Regions from separate parts of the Homo sapiens genome. Here all the other regions are linked to region 3. Evidence: promoter capture Hi-C in 16 types of primary human blood cells and fetal thymus (Javierre and others, 2016). All regions are on one chromosome and are shown on one strand. The core of a region is centred on a gene start or on the middle of the fragment in contact, and the rest is flanking DNA. Distances in the headings are between cores, read along the strand shown. Region 1 overlaps ZNF589 (zinc finger protein 589). Region 2 holds the start of ZNF589 (zinc finger protein 589). Region 3 holds the start of UCN2 (urocortin 2).

Region 1 (3,849 bases), core at 246-2,745, 290 kb after region 3:
TATATCTTTGTTGCTAACTTTATCTTTTTTGCTTGTATTATTTACCATACTGGGTCCTGGCTAGGCTCAATCCCTCGTATTAGGAATCTCTTGCCTAGTGGGGGCTTTCTGTGGCTCAACCCCTCATATTAGGGATCTCCTGCCTATTTGGGGGGTTCCTTCTGGCTCAACCCCTCGTATTAGGGGTCTCTTGCCTGTCCTTCACTGGAAGCTTTGCTAAGGCACAATTCGCCTATCCTTTAGCTCCACCTGCTGGAGATTCCTTGCACCCTTCTTTCACTGCAACCTTCACGCTCTGGCCGCTTCCCTTGAGGGAATGTTCCAGGTCACTTTTAGCATTCATGGGGGGTCAGTATAAACCCCTGACGGGACCCCCAAAGGGCCGCCCTAAGCCATATGAGATGACCACGGAACTGCAGATTGGTCTCACTCCGCACAGCAGTAGTGCTTGTTACCATTCATGCACTTTCAACCTCCAGAATGCCCCGACCCCCGCAAAACCACTAAAGAAGTAATTTGTTGCCCCTGCGACGTTTTCTACCTTGGTCTGTGCAGTTTACCTGGTCGCCGCAGTATTGCAAGTCTCTCTTCCCCGCGTTGCTGAGAGTCCAGGTTTATTCGTCACAACAGGTGGGTCTCGATCTCCCATCCCTGAGGGCCACCGCAACAGGGCAGTGGGAAGTGTCTCCCCTGGGTAGGGTGACTGAAGACCCCTTCCCGAAGGAGAATGGGAATCCCAGACGAGCCCCCAGAATTGTTGGATATAAAATGCTCTAGGATGAAATGCTCGGTGCCATGAAGTAAAACCAGCACTCAGGCAAAAGTTTAATTTCTCTCAGCAAGGTAATTTACTTCTGCGGAACGGTGCCACTTGTGTCAATCAAGATCACAAGAGCACAGAGAACAAAGGAGACCAGGGGATTTTTATCCTTAACACAGTCCCTATCTCTGTGTCACTCCCCCCATGGGCTGGGGTCAGACTGCACAATCTGAGCTGACCCAATTGGCCACTTGTACATATTTTCCTAACTATAGAAGGGGAGGGGGACATGAGTTACAGAGGTGGAGTGTGAGGCGTGCAGTTTCGGGGGAACAATGGGTACAGGTAACCAAGGGAACAGATGTGAATTATTGATTAAAGCTGACGAGAATGGGGTAGGCTGTTTACAGTAACTAGGGGTAAGGAAGAACAAGAAAGTTGAATTTGAGAACAAGGATAAGGAAGTTAGCAGGCTAAACCCTTTGAAGAGAGACTCAGATTTACTGCAGCTTACAATCTCTTCCTATGACTGCCTGGACCTGACAGTCCTCTTGCCGGACCAGATCTGTGTGGTATCTCGACAGTGCCTACATGGATTTTAATAGAAAATGAACACTTTTTTCTCCCTCTCATGTTTAAAGTAGATGTATGATCACTAATTTTTCCACTTTCATTTTTCTATGGGAGGAGTAACTTCGAGGTCTTGTGGAATGATGGTGTCCCACCCTTCCCCTGCCCAGCAACCCCTAAACACACACACATACACACACTTTCTATGGCTTTTAGCTCAGGCCATGGGAAAGGGGCAGCAATAGTGAGAGGTGACAACGTGTTAGCAGCCCTCGCTCACTCTCAGCGCCTCCCCGGCCTCAGCGTCCGCTCTGGCCACGCTTGAGGAGCCCTTTAGCCAGCCGCTGCACTGTGGGAGCCCCTCTCTGGGTTGGTCGAGGCCGGAGCCAGCTCCCTTGGCTGGCAGAGAGGTGTGGAGGGAGAGGCGCAGGTGGGAACCAGGGCTGCGCATGGGGCTCGCAGGCCAGCATGAGTTCCGGGTGGGCGCAGGCTCGGGGGCCCCCACACTCGGAGCGGCCGGCCGGCACCACAGGCCCCAGGCATTAAGGGGCTTAGCACCCGGGCCAGCAGCTGCAGAGGGTGCACCGGGTCCCCCAGCACTGACAGCCTGCCCACGCCGCACTTGAATTCTCACCGGGCCTCAGCCGCCTCCCCATGAGGCAGGGCTTGGGACCTGCGGCCTGCCATGCCCAAGCCACCCCCGACCGCCATGGGCTCGCATGCAGCCCGAGACTCCCCGACAGGCGCTGCCCGTCCCATCGACCGCCCAAGGGCTGAGGTGTGCAGGTGTGAGGCACAGGACTAGCAGGCAGCTCCACCCACAGCCCCAGTGCGGGATCCACTAGGGGAAGTCAGCTGGGCTCCTGAGTTGGGTGGGGTCTTGGAGAACTTTTGTCTAGCTGGAGGATTGTATATGCACCAAGCAGCACTCTCTGTCTAGCTCGGGGTTTGTGGATGCACCAATCAGCACTCTGTATCTAACTAACCTGGTGGGGACTTGGAAAACTTTTATGTCTAGCTAGAGGATTGTAAATGCACCAATCAGCACTCTGTGTCTAGCTCAAGGTTTGTAAACGCACCAATCAGTGCTCTGTGTCTAGCTAATCTAGCGGGGACTTGGAGAACTTGTGTCTAGCTAAAGGATTGTAAACGCACCAATCAGCACTGTGTCTAGCTAAAGGTTTGTAAACGCGTGTCTAGCTAATCTAGTGGGGACTTGGAAAATTTTTGTCTAGCTAGAGGCTTGTAAATGCACCAATCAGCACTCTGTGTCTAGCTCAGGGATTGTAAATGCACCAATCAGCACCCTGTCAAAACGGACCAATATGCTCTCTGTAAAATGGACCAATCAGCAGGATGTGGGTGGGGCCGGATAAGGGGATAAAAGCAGGCTACCCGAGCCAGCAGCGGCAAGCCACTCAGGTCCCCTTCCATGCTGTGGAAGCTTTGTTTTTTCACTCTTCACAATAAATCTTCCTGCTGGTCACTCTTTGGGTCCGCGCCGCCTTTAAGAGCTGTAACACTAACCGCAAAGGTCCGCAGCTTCACTCCTGAAACCAGCAAGACCACGAACCCACCGGAAGGAACTAACAACTCCAGATGCGCTGCCTTTAAGAGCCGTAACACTGCTAAGGTCTGCAGCTTCACTCCTAAGCGAGACCACAAACCCACCAGAAGTTAGAAACTCTGGACACGTCCGAACATCAGAAGGAACAAACTCCAGACACACCATGTTTAAGAATTGTAACACTCACCGTGAGGGTCCACGGCTTCATTCTTGAAGTCAGCAAGACCAAGAACCCACCAATTCCAGACACATTAGGGTGGTAGGCCAGGCATGGGGGAGATCCTACATTCCAGGTACCCCTAGCCCTTCCCCTAAGCAGGCTAACCTTGGGGATTCCCTGGAGATCAACCACTTCCAGTGAGAGGGAGTGGACAAAAGCCTCTGGACCAGCCATTCCTTCTCTCTCTCCAAGTCCTTTTTCCTCTCTAGCATCAAAACCAAGCCTAAGTATTTTGAGGTTACATGAACATCTCTCCCCTTCTTTTCTGTGGCAGAGTCCCTTAGCAAATAGAGGCACTGGGGCCTGAGTGGATAGCTCTCCAAGGTACACTCATTGACACAGGGTATCAGGTAGGGCTAGCCCCAGCCCAAGGGAGTAAGGCAAACTGTCAGAACCTGGGCCATATGGGCCCTGGAGTGTGAGGAGAGACAAATGGCTAAAGGCCCTGGCACCATTCCTGGATGTAATTTAGCCACCCGAGCATGGCTAAAACACTGGGTACTGAGATTGGAGGATTTAAGAGGAGCTGTGTTTAAAATACCCTTAAACCTGGTATTGGAAGGCTGATGATGCAGCATTGCTAGATCCCTGTCATTGAAGGCCAAGGTGGCGTGGCTATGTTTAAGTCCTGAGTCTGAAGAACTTTTAGAGTGTGGTTAAAGAATCTTGGATTTGGGACTGGAGGGTTAGGAAGGGGACCTGGTAAAGGTGTCCCTCAGATTGTAGGGCTGG
Region 2 (3,930 bases), core at 365-2,864, 320 kb after region 3:
CTATGGTCTTTGGCTGCTTTCACACAACAGCAGACCACTAGTCGTAACAAAGACCGTGTGGCCTACAAAGCCTGAAACATTTACCACCTGGCCCTTAAAAGAAAACGTTTGCAAGACCAGGTGCAGTGGCTCACGCCTATAATCCTAGCACTTTGGGAGACCGAGGCGGGAGGATCCCTTGAGCCCAGGAGTTGGAGACCAGCCTGGGCAACATAGGGAGACCCTGTTTCTAAAAAAACCAAACAGAAAAAAATTTGCCCAGCCCTGTTCTAGACTGTTCCTGTTGTTACATCCAAAGTCATTTGGGGCCGGGTGTGGTAGCTCCCACCTGTAATCCCAACACTTTGGGAGGCCGAGGCAGGTGGATCATCTGGGGTCAGGAGTTCAAGACCGGCCTGGCCAACATGATGAAACCCCGCCTCTACTAAAAATACAAAAAAATAGCCGGGCGTGGTGGCGTGTCCCTGTAATTCCAGCCGCTTGGTAGGCTGAGGCAGGAGAATCGCTGGAACCTGGGAGAAAGAGGTTGCAGTGAGCAGAGATCGCCCACTGCACTCCAGCCTGGGCTACAGAGCAAGACTCTGTCTCCAAAAAAAAAGTCTTTTGGGCCGGGTGGGGTGGCTAACACCTGTAATCCCAACATTGTGGGAGGCCAAGGTGGGTGGATTGCTTGAGGCCAGGAGTTCGAGACCAGCCTGGCAAATATGGCGAAATCCCCTCTCTACTAAAAATACAACAGCCGGGGTGGTGAGGCGCCGCCTGTAATCCCAGCTACTCCGGAAGCTGAGGCACGAGAATCACTTGAGCCTGGGAAAGCGGAGGCTGCAGTGAGCCTAGATCCCGCCACTGCACTCCGGACCGACTCAAAAAATATAAAAATATAATATACTCCGGGCGCGGTGGCTCACGCCTGTAATCCCAGCACTTTGGGAGGCCGAGGTGGGCGGATCACGAGGTCTGGAGTTCAAAACCAGCCTGGCCAACATGGTGAAATCCCCGTCTCTACTAAAAATACAAAAATTAGCCAGGCGTGGTGGAGGGCGCCTGTAATCCCAGCTGCTCGGCAGGCTGAGGCAGAGAACTGCTTGAACCCGGGAGACGGAGATTGCAGTGAACGGAGATCGCGCCACTGCACTCCAGCCTGGGCGACAGAGCGAGACTCCGTCTCAAAATAAATATGATATAATATAATAATACAAAATGCTGTTCTTCAGTTGCACTCCACACATCTCAAATGCTCAGCAGCCATTTATGGCCAATGACTGCCGGAGTGCACAAGTGCAGGATGCCCGGTGAAGAGTCGTGGAGTGAGCACCGTGGAGACTGTACGGGACACCTAGGGAGGAACCTGGCCCCCCAGGGGAGTAAGAGCCGCTGTAGGGGTAGTCAGCGCCTCACACAGCTCGCACCCCACGCGCATCCCTGGTGGATACGGCCGACGCCTGCGCGGCGCCTGCGGCTGGAGCACCGAATGGGGGAGGCGATCTCGCGGCCCCGACTCACCTTCCGCAGTCCAGCCCAGTAGCTGCTCCCGCGGGGCCCACATCTGCGCGCGCACGCACGCACGAAGCAAACGAGGTAGCAGCACCGTGTGTGAAACGGATTAGAATGCGCACCGCGGGCCACTGGCGGCGCCAGAAGAAAGAAGCAGGACTGGGTGAAGTGCGTCACCGCGCGGCGCGCAGCCTGCCGGGAAGCGTAGTTCTCGGGGCGAAATGCGGCTTGTGCAGGGCGAGAGAAAATGCTGAGGCGCACTTTGACCTTCTAGGTCCCCCTCGGCCGCAATATTTGGGGTTGTGCTTACCACAGGTACCCATAAGCAAAATATAGTGTTGTTTTCCATGGTTGTAAACATTATATAAATACACTTACAATGCCTGCTACTAGCTCTTTTGCGCAGTTCTATAATGACACGTGTTGACCTGTTCATTGTGTGTTCACTGCTGTGTGGTATCTAATGTAGAAATACACCAGGACTCCAATTGGACAGACTCATGCGCATCCATGGAGAGCTTCTCAAGGACAGTGGTTCGCAAACTTGTTGTTGTTAAAATCCTTTTACACTCTTAAAAATTACTGAGGACCCCAAAGAGCTTTTGAAACCGCCTTTGCAAAATTATACCTAAGGAAATTATGATGTTATAGGAGTTATTAAGAAATTATTTTAAGCAGATAGAGAAGGAAAGGGGTCCTTGGGAAGTTTTTGTTTCTTTTAAAGCAGCTCCAGAAAGGTTTCTTGTCTAGCAGGAAAGCCTGGGCTCCTAGAGCAGGATGGCAAGCTTTGATATGGAAATACAGGCCATTAGAAACTGGACGCACCCAAACATGGCGATTCCCGCCGTCCTTTTCTTTGCCCTGACATGTGCCTGGCAACATGGCCACCCCCCACATATTCCCACGTGTGTAGAACTTCATGGAGCCCTACATTTGCATATTAAAAAGCTAGGGTGGGAGGGCCAGGTTTTTGGCTGCCACATAAATGACACATCTGATCAAACTAATCCCCTGAGCCCTATGGAAACCAGACACCGCCTCCTCCAGCATCCTCAGATAAGCAGCCACTTTTCCGCACACGGCGCTTTCTCTTTGTTGGAATCCCCGCTCCCTCTGTCTCTGTATGGGGGAGCTGTTTTCGTCTTCCTTCCTTCTTTCTTGCCTATTAAACTTTTCGCTCCTTAAAACCACTCCACGTGTGTCTGTGTTATTAAGCCTATCAGAGACCAAGGACCCTGGTGTTCCTCCAGTCATCAGAGCCTTATCAATGACAGTAAAAGATATCAGATCTAACCCACCTCATCTTCCTTTCAACCTCTAAACTGTCTTTGTCCACTTCTGGGCATAGGCCAAAGTAGCCTTGGGAAGGAATTCAGTTTATAGCTTAAATAATAGCCCTTCCCAAGGGCTAAACTGTTCTTGTAAAATGAATGAAAGGCCACCAGCCACCAAATTAGGATGAGAAGGGCTGGAATTCTAAATATTACCAGCCATTATTCCAGAGGCCCTAAGACGCACAACTTCCCCAATTACTCTTTTGAAGCACAACTTCCCCAATTACTCTTTTTTTTTTTTTAGGGAAAAGAACACGGAGTCTCACTCTGTCTACCATGCTGGAGTGCAGTGGTGCCATCTCGGCTCACTGCAACCTCCCTCTCCTGGGTTCAAGCGATTCTCCTGCCTCAACCTCCTGAGTAGCCGGGATTACAAGCACGCACCACCATACCCCGCTAATATTTTTGGATTCTTTTTTTTTTTGGTTGGTTTTTTTTTTTTTTTTTTTTTTTTTTTTGAGACGGAGTCTCGCTCTGTCGCCCAGGCCGGACTGCGGACTGCAGTGGCGCAATCTCGGCTCACTGCAAGCTCCGCTTCCCGGGTTCACGCCATTCTCCTGCCTCAGCCTCCCCAGTAGCTGGGACTACAGGCGCCCGCCACCGCGCCCGGCTAATTTTTTGTATTTTTAGTAGAGACGGGGTTTCACCTTGTTAGCCAGGATGGTCTCGATCTCCTGACCTCATGATCCACCCGCCTCGGCCTCCCAAAGTGCTGGGATTACAGGCGTGAGCCACCGCGCCCGGCCAAGGTTGGTTTTTTTTTTTTTTTTTTTTTGAGCCCAGGCTGGAGTGCAATGGTGCGATCTCGGCTCACTGCAACCTCCTCCTCCCGAGTTCAAGCAATTATCCTGCCTCGGCCTCCGGAGTAACTGGAATTACAGGCATGCGCCACCACGCCCGGCTAATTTTGTATTTTTAGTAAGGACGGGGTTTCTCCATGTTGGTCAGGCTGGTCTCAAACTCCTGACCTAGGTGAGCCGCCCACCTTGGCCTCCCAAAGTGGTAGGATTCCAGGCGTGAGCCACCACGCCCAGCCCTCAATTACTCTTAAAGATAACATCACTATTGTGAACCTAAGATTGGCCTTTTGAGATGTCTTTTC
Region 3 (4,201 bases), core at 1-2,500:
AACCCTCTCTGATTCCCACAAACCCTGCTGACTTGACCCCATTGGCCCAGACCCCTGTTCCCTGCCACTGGATGAGGGCTCCTGCACTGCCTACACCCTGCGCTGGTACCATCGGGCTGTGACAGGCAGCACAGAGGCCTGTCACCCTTTTGTCTATGGTGGCTGTGGAGGGAATGCCAACCGTTTTGGGACCCGTGAGGCCTGCGAGCGCCGCTGCCCACCCCGGGTGGTCCAGAGCCAGGGGACAGGTATGGGCTGAGCCCCCACCGTGGGGAACTGGGCACTGAGCCTGCCTGGATCGGGTTCTGGGGGAGGAGTCCTTGGGCCAGGGTTCCAGGTCAGGGTCCTGGAGGAGACGCTCCCTCGCAGTAGGGGACCTGGGGCAGACGCCCAGACCAAAGAGCTGAATATAGAGCCCCAGCCGTGGAGCCCCCAGTAGGGTCCCCTTCCATGTTCCCTCCTTTAAAGACCTAAGTATGGACCCCTCTGAGGTCAGAGCCCCCACTTCCTGTTGTAGCCTCCGCTCCCTCCCCTTGGCGGTGCCTCTGCCTGAGCGTCTCCGGGGAAGGTCAGATGGCTGACGACCGTTTCCAACCTGTCCTCACCAGGTACTGCCCAGGACTGAGGCCCAGATAATGAGCTGAGATTCAGCATCCCCTGGAGGAGTCGGGGTCTCAGCAGAACCCCACTGTCCCTCCCCTTGGTGCTAGAGGCTTGTGTGCACGTGAGCGTGCGTGTGCACGTCCGTTATTTCAGTGACTTGGTCCCGTGGGTCTAGCCTTCCCCCCTGTGGACAAACCCCCATTGTGGCTCCTGCCACCCTGGCAGATGACTCACTGTGGGGGGGTGGCTGTGGGCAGTGAGCGGATGTGACTGGCGTCTGACCCGCCCCTTGACCCAAGCCTGTGATGACATGGTGCTGATTCTGGGGGGCATTAAAGCTGCTGTTTTAAAAGGCTCCTGTTGTGACTGTTTGGGAAGATGGGGGGTTTCAAGGGGGAAGGTTTTCCTTGGGGGGTTGGTATTATTCTGCATGGGTACAGAGTCCCTCTGCCCAGTCCTGGTCACTGTCTTGTGATTCTCAGTCCCCAACTTGTCCCCGGAAAAGAGTAGATAGGGTGGGGGCTAAGGACACCCCCGGGAGGGATGAGTCATAGGTGGGGGGCTGCCTCATGCCAGGAAGCATGTACCAGCTCCCACCCCAGGGGGCTGAGGGAGATAAATGGGCCCTGAAGCGGGGTAGAGGGTCAGACCACAGGACAGTAGTGCCTGGCCCCAGCCCCAGGCAGCCACAGCAGGCTGCCTTACCCCAGAAGCAGCTGGTGGCGGTAGGACTGGGTTGGGTCGGGATGGGAAGGGTCTTGGAGGTTGAGTGGATGTGGGGTTTGGCTTTATGGAGGGCTTGGACCCAGGGGACTCTGGGATCTCTGGCTGCTTTTCTGCCTCTGAGATCCGATTCCTGCCCTTCTGTTTCCTGGATCAGCTGCAAGCTCTCCTGCTGAGAACCGCCTGCCCTCCTGTGGACTCTGTGTTTCTGTCTGAATCTTTCTTTCCATCATGCTGTCTGTCTCTGGGATGGTTTCTGTCTGTCTTTTTCTTCTAGTCTCCATTTTGCTCTGCCTCCATCTCCTTCATCTCCCTCTCTTGCTGTCCCTCTGTCTCTGGATTTCTTTGTTTCTTTTTTTCTGTCTTGCTTTCTGCCTCTTTGTCTCATTCTGGCTCTCCTCTTGTCTCCCCTTCTCTGTCTCTGGCCTGGCCTGGCCTCTCTAACCCCTTTCTCGGTGTCTTCCTCTCTCTCCATCCCCCGCTCTGTCACTCTGCCCTTGCCATCTGTCTCTGTCCATGGACCCCAGTTGACCAGAGCCCCTGCCCTGAGCCCATTTTCTCCTTGCAGCCTGACCTCACGATGACCAGGTGTGCTCTGCTGTTGCTGATGGTCCTGATGTTGGGCAGAGTCCTGGTTGTCCCAGTGACCCCTATCCCAACCTTCCAGCTCCGCCCTCAGAATTCTCCCCAGACCACTCCCCGACCTGCGGCCTCAGAGAGCCCCTCAGCTGCTCCCACATGGCCGTGGGCTGCCCAGAGCCACTGCAGCCCCACCCGCCACCCTGGCTCGCGCATTGTCCTATCGCTGGATGTCCCCATCGGCCTCTTGCAGATCTTACTGGAGCAAGCCCGGGCCAGGGCTGCCAGGGAGCAGGCCACCACCAACGCCCGCATCCTGGCCCGTGTCGGCCACTGCTGAGCCTGAGAGAGGGGGTCACAGTGATAGGGCCACCCTGGATGGGAAGACCTGGAGGGCAGCCACACAGCTGGACGGATGCTGCCACATCTGGGCATACAGTGTCTGGACGCTGCCACATCTGGGCATACAGTGTCTGGACACTGCCACATGGAGCCACTGTCATGCAGGTCATATCAGATCTGAGTGCCCCACAGAGTCACAGTGTGTCTGGACAGCCTGGACATTGGACATTGCTAAGTTGGGTCACTGCCACATGGAGTCTTGCCATGCCTGTGTGCCCCACAGACCTAATATATGTCCGGACAGCTTGGATGCTGCCACGTAAGGTCACTGCTGTGGCGAGTCTTGCTATGTCTGGGTGCCCCATAGTCACAGAACACCTGGACACCGCCACATGCAGTCATCATCATGTTACTTTCAGGAGCCTCAACACGAGAGCTCAACACTGCCTCCGACCAGTCCCTCTGAGGCCCACAGGTCTGTCATCCCATAGGCCACCACACAGAGAAATGCTGGCTGAGGGTCACTTGCTTGCTCTGTGCCCCATGAGGCAGCACCTGCCCCAGATGGACGGGGCTGTGAGGGGTGTCTCCAGGCACAAAGGCCCGAACACAGGAAGCCTGTGACCATGGCAGCCTTGTCTTATGGGCGCATATGTGCGTGTGTGGCTGAGTCTCTGACAGCTGTGAGTGTGTGTGAGCAGGGTAAGGGTACGTGAGGGGTCTGAGAGGAGTGGGTGCTTGTCCCCCAAACCTGCATGAAGCAAGAACAACTCCTGGCCAGGCCCTGTCCTCCCCACGTACCCCTGCATCCCCAGCCTCGACCCAGGGACATGCAGGGCTCACAGGAGACAGGGCTCAGGCTGCCGGAGCTCCAACCAAACTCTGTCCCACTTCACGCACGGACTGTCCTGGGCAAAGGTGTTCACCTTTCCGAGCCTCGGTTTCCTTATCTGTAAAGCAAAGCGACACCAGCAAGCCTGTGAGCATTGTGTATATAGCAGACATGGAGGTCCTGCAGCAGGAGGTGCTCAATAAACACAAAGCGACTGAAGGATGGGACCAGCAAGCCTGTGAGCATTGTGTATGTAGCAGACATGGAGGTCCTGCAGCAGGAGGTGCTCAATAAACACAAAGCGACTGAAGGATGGGATGTGCGAGAATCCCAGTGGTGTGCACCCAGGCCGCGACACATGGTGGGTGAGTCATACCTGGCTTCTCTGCCTTCCTCCCTAGCTCCCCGGTTAACTGACCTGGTCCCTTGGTTTGGAAGGACTAGGTTTTGCCTGATTTCACAGCCCAACTCCATTGCTGGGCCAGAGACAGAACTGACTTTCCAGGCAGTGTGGACGGGCTTGCCCGCAGAGGGGGCAGGCACTCTGGGCTGTGCAGACAACTCTAGGTGGACATGAAGGCAGACGCTGGGTGGCATGGGCAGCTCTGGCGGGAGAGGGAGACTGTACTGGCCACAGCGTGGCCGGCTGACTGGAGTGGGGGCACTGGCGCTGCCCTCACAGTTGTAAGCAGCCCTGTGGGGGCGGGCCTACAGTGGGCTGGGGAGGCGGGGCTGCAGGAGCCGCAGGAGTCGCTTCTCTCTCTTCAGAGTGCTAGGCGGGGTTACCCCACTCTGGAGCTGCAGGGGGCAGTGGCCCTGGCCAGTTTGGTTGCAGGATGGACAGAGGCTCGTTAGGAGGCAGCTCCCTGACCGACCTGGGGCCGGGGAGCAGCAGGCGGGGTAGGCACGGGACAGCGTGGGGAGGGTGGAGGGTTAGGGAAAGACCTGGATGAAGTCAGGGTGGTGCTGGAGGGGTGCGAGAGTGTTGGGGGGTCTCTCCTGGTTTAGGGGTGCTCTGAGGGCCATTCATCTGTCAGTGGCCCGAAGGAGGGGGAAAACTGTCGCCCTGCAAGGGAGAGGGGGCTGGGCCAAGGGGGAACTATAAATAGTGTCTTCCTCCAG

Evidence for each region. The method cuts DNA at HindIII sites, captures the fragments that hold promoters and counts their contacts. A CHiCAGO score of 5 or more calls a contact.
Region 1: a fragment that was not itself captured here is called in contact with the fragment with the promoter of UCN2 in region 3 in 9 of 17 cell types (fetal thymus, naive CD4 T cells, naive CD8 T cells and 6 more); the score reaches 8.5 in fetal thymus.
Region 2: a contact is called between the fragment with the promoter of ZNF589 here and the fragment with the promoter of UCN2 in region 3, in 1 of 17 cell types (naive CD4 T cells). The highest score is 5.0, in naive CD4 T cells.

The regions. Positions count from the first base shown.
Region 1 is chr3:48,270,205-48,274,053 of GRCh38, reverse strand. ZNF589 (zinc finger protein 589) reads right to left here. Exons shown (of 4, transcript NM_016089.3): 4 at 3,064-3,849. Among named protein-coding and RNA genes, the nearest start is that of NME6, 29 kb to the left of the region's middle. The HindIII fragment of the contact is 2,563 bases long and covers 214-2,776 here.
Region 2 is chr3:48,238,788-48,242,717 of GRCh38, reverse strand. ZNF589 (zinc finger protein 589) reads right to left here and starts at 1,614. Exons shown (of 4, transcript NM_016089.3): 1 at 1,504-1,614. The coding sequence starts at 1,546. RefSeq lists enhancers at 1,445-1,739, 930-1,847, 2,165-2,459. The HindIII fragment of the contact is 4,371 bases long and covers 1-2,281 here.
Region 3 is chr3:48,560,830-48,565,030 of GRCh38, reverse strand. It overlaps UCN2 (urocortin 2), which reads left to right and starts at 1,250. Exons shown (of 2, transcript NM_033199.4): 1 at 1,250-1,328; 2 at 1,895-3,313. The coding sequence starts at 1,907. The coding sequence ends at 2,245. It overlaps COL7A1 (collagen type VII alpha 1 chain), which reads left to right. Exons shown (of 119, transcript NM_000094.4): 118 at 51-248; 119 at 609-958. The coding sequence ends at 625. It also overlaps a transcript of PFKFB4 not described here. The HindIII fragment of the contact is 21,136 bases long and covers 1-4,201 here.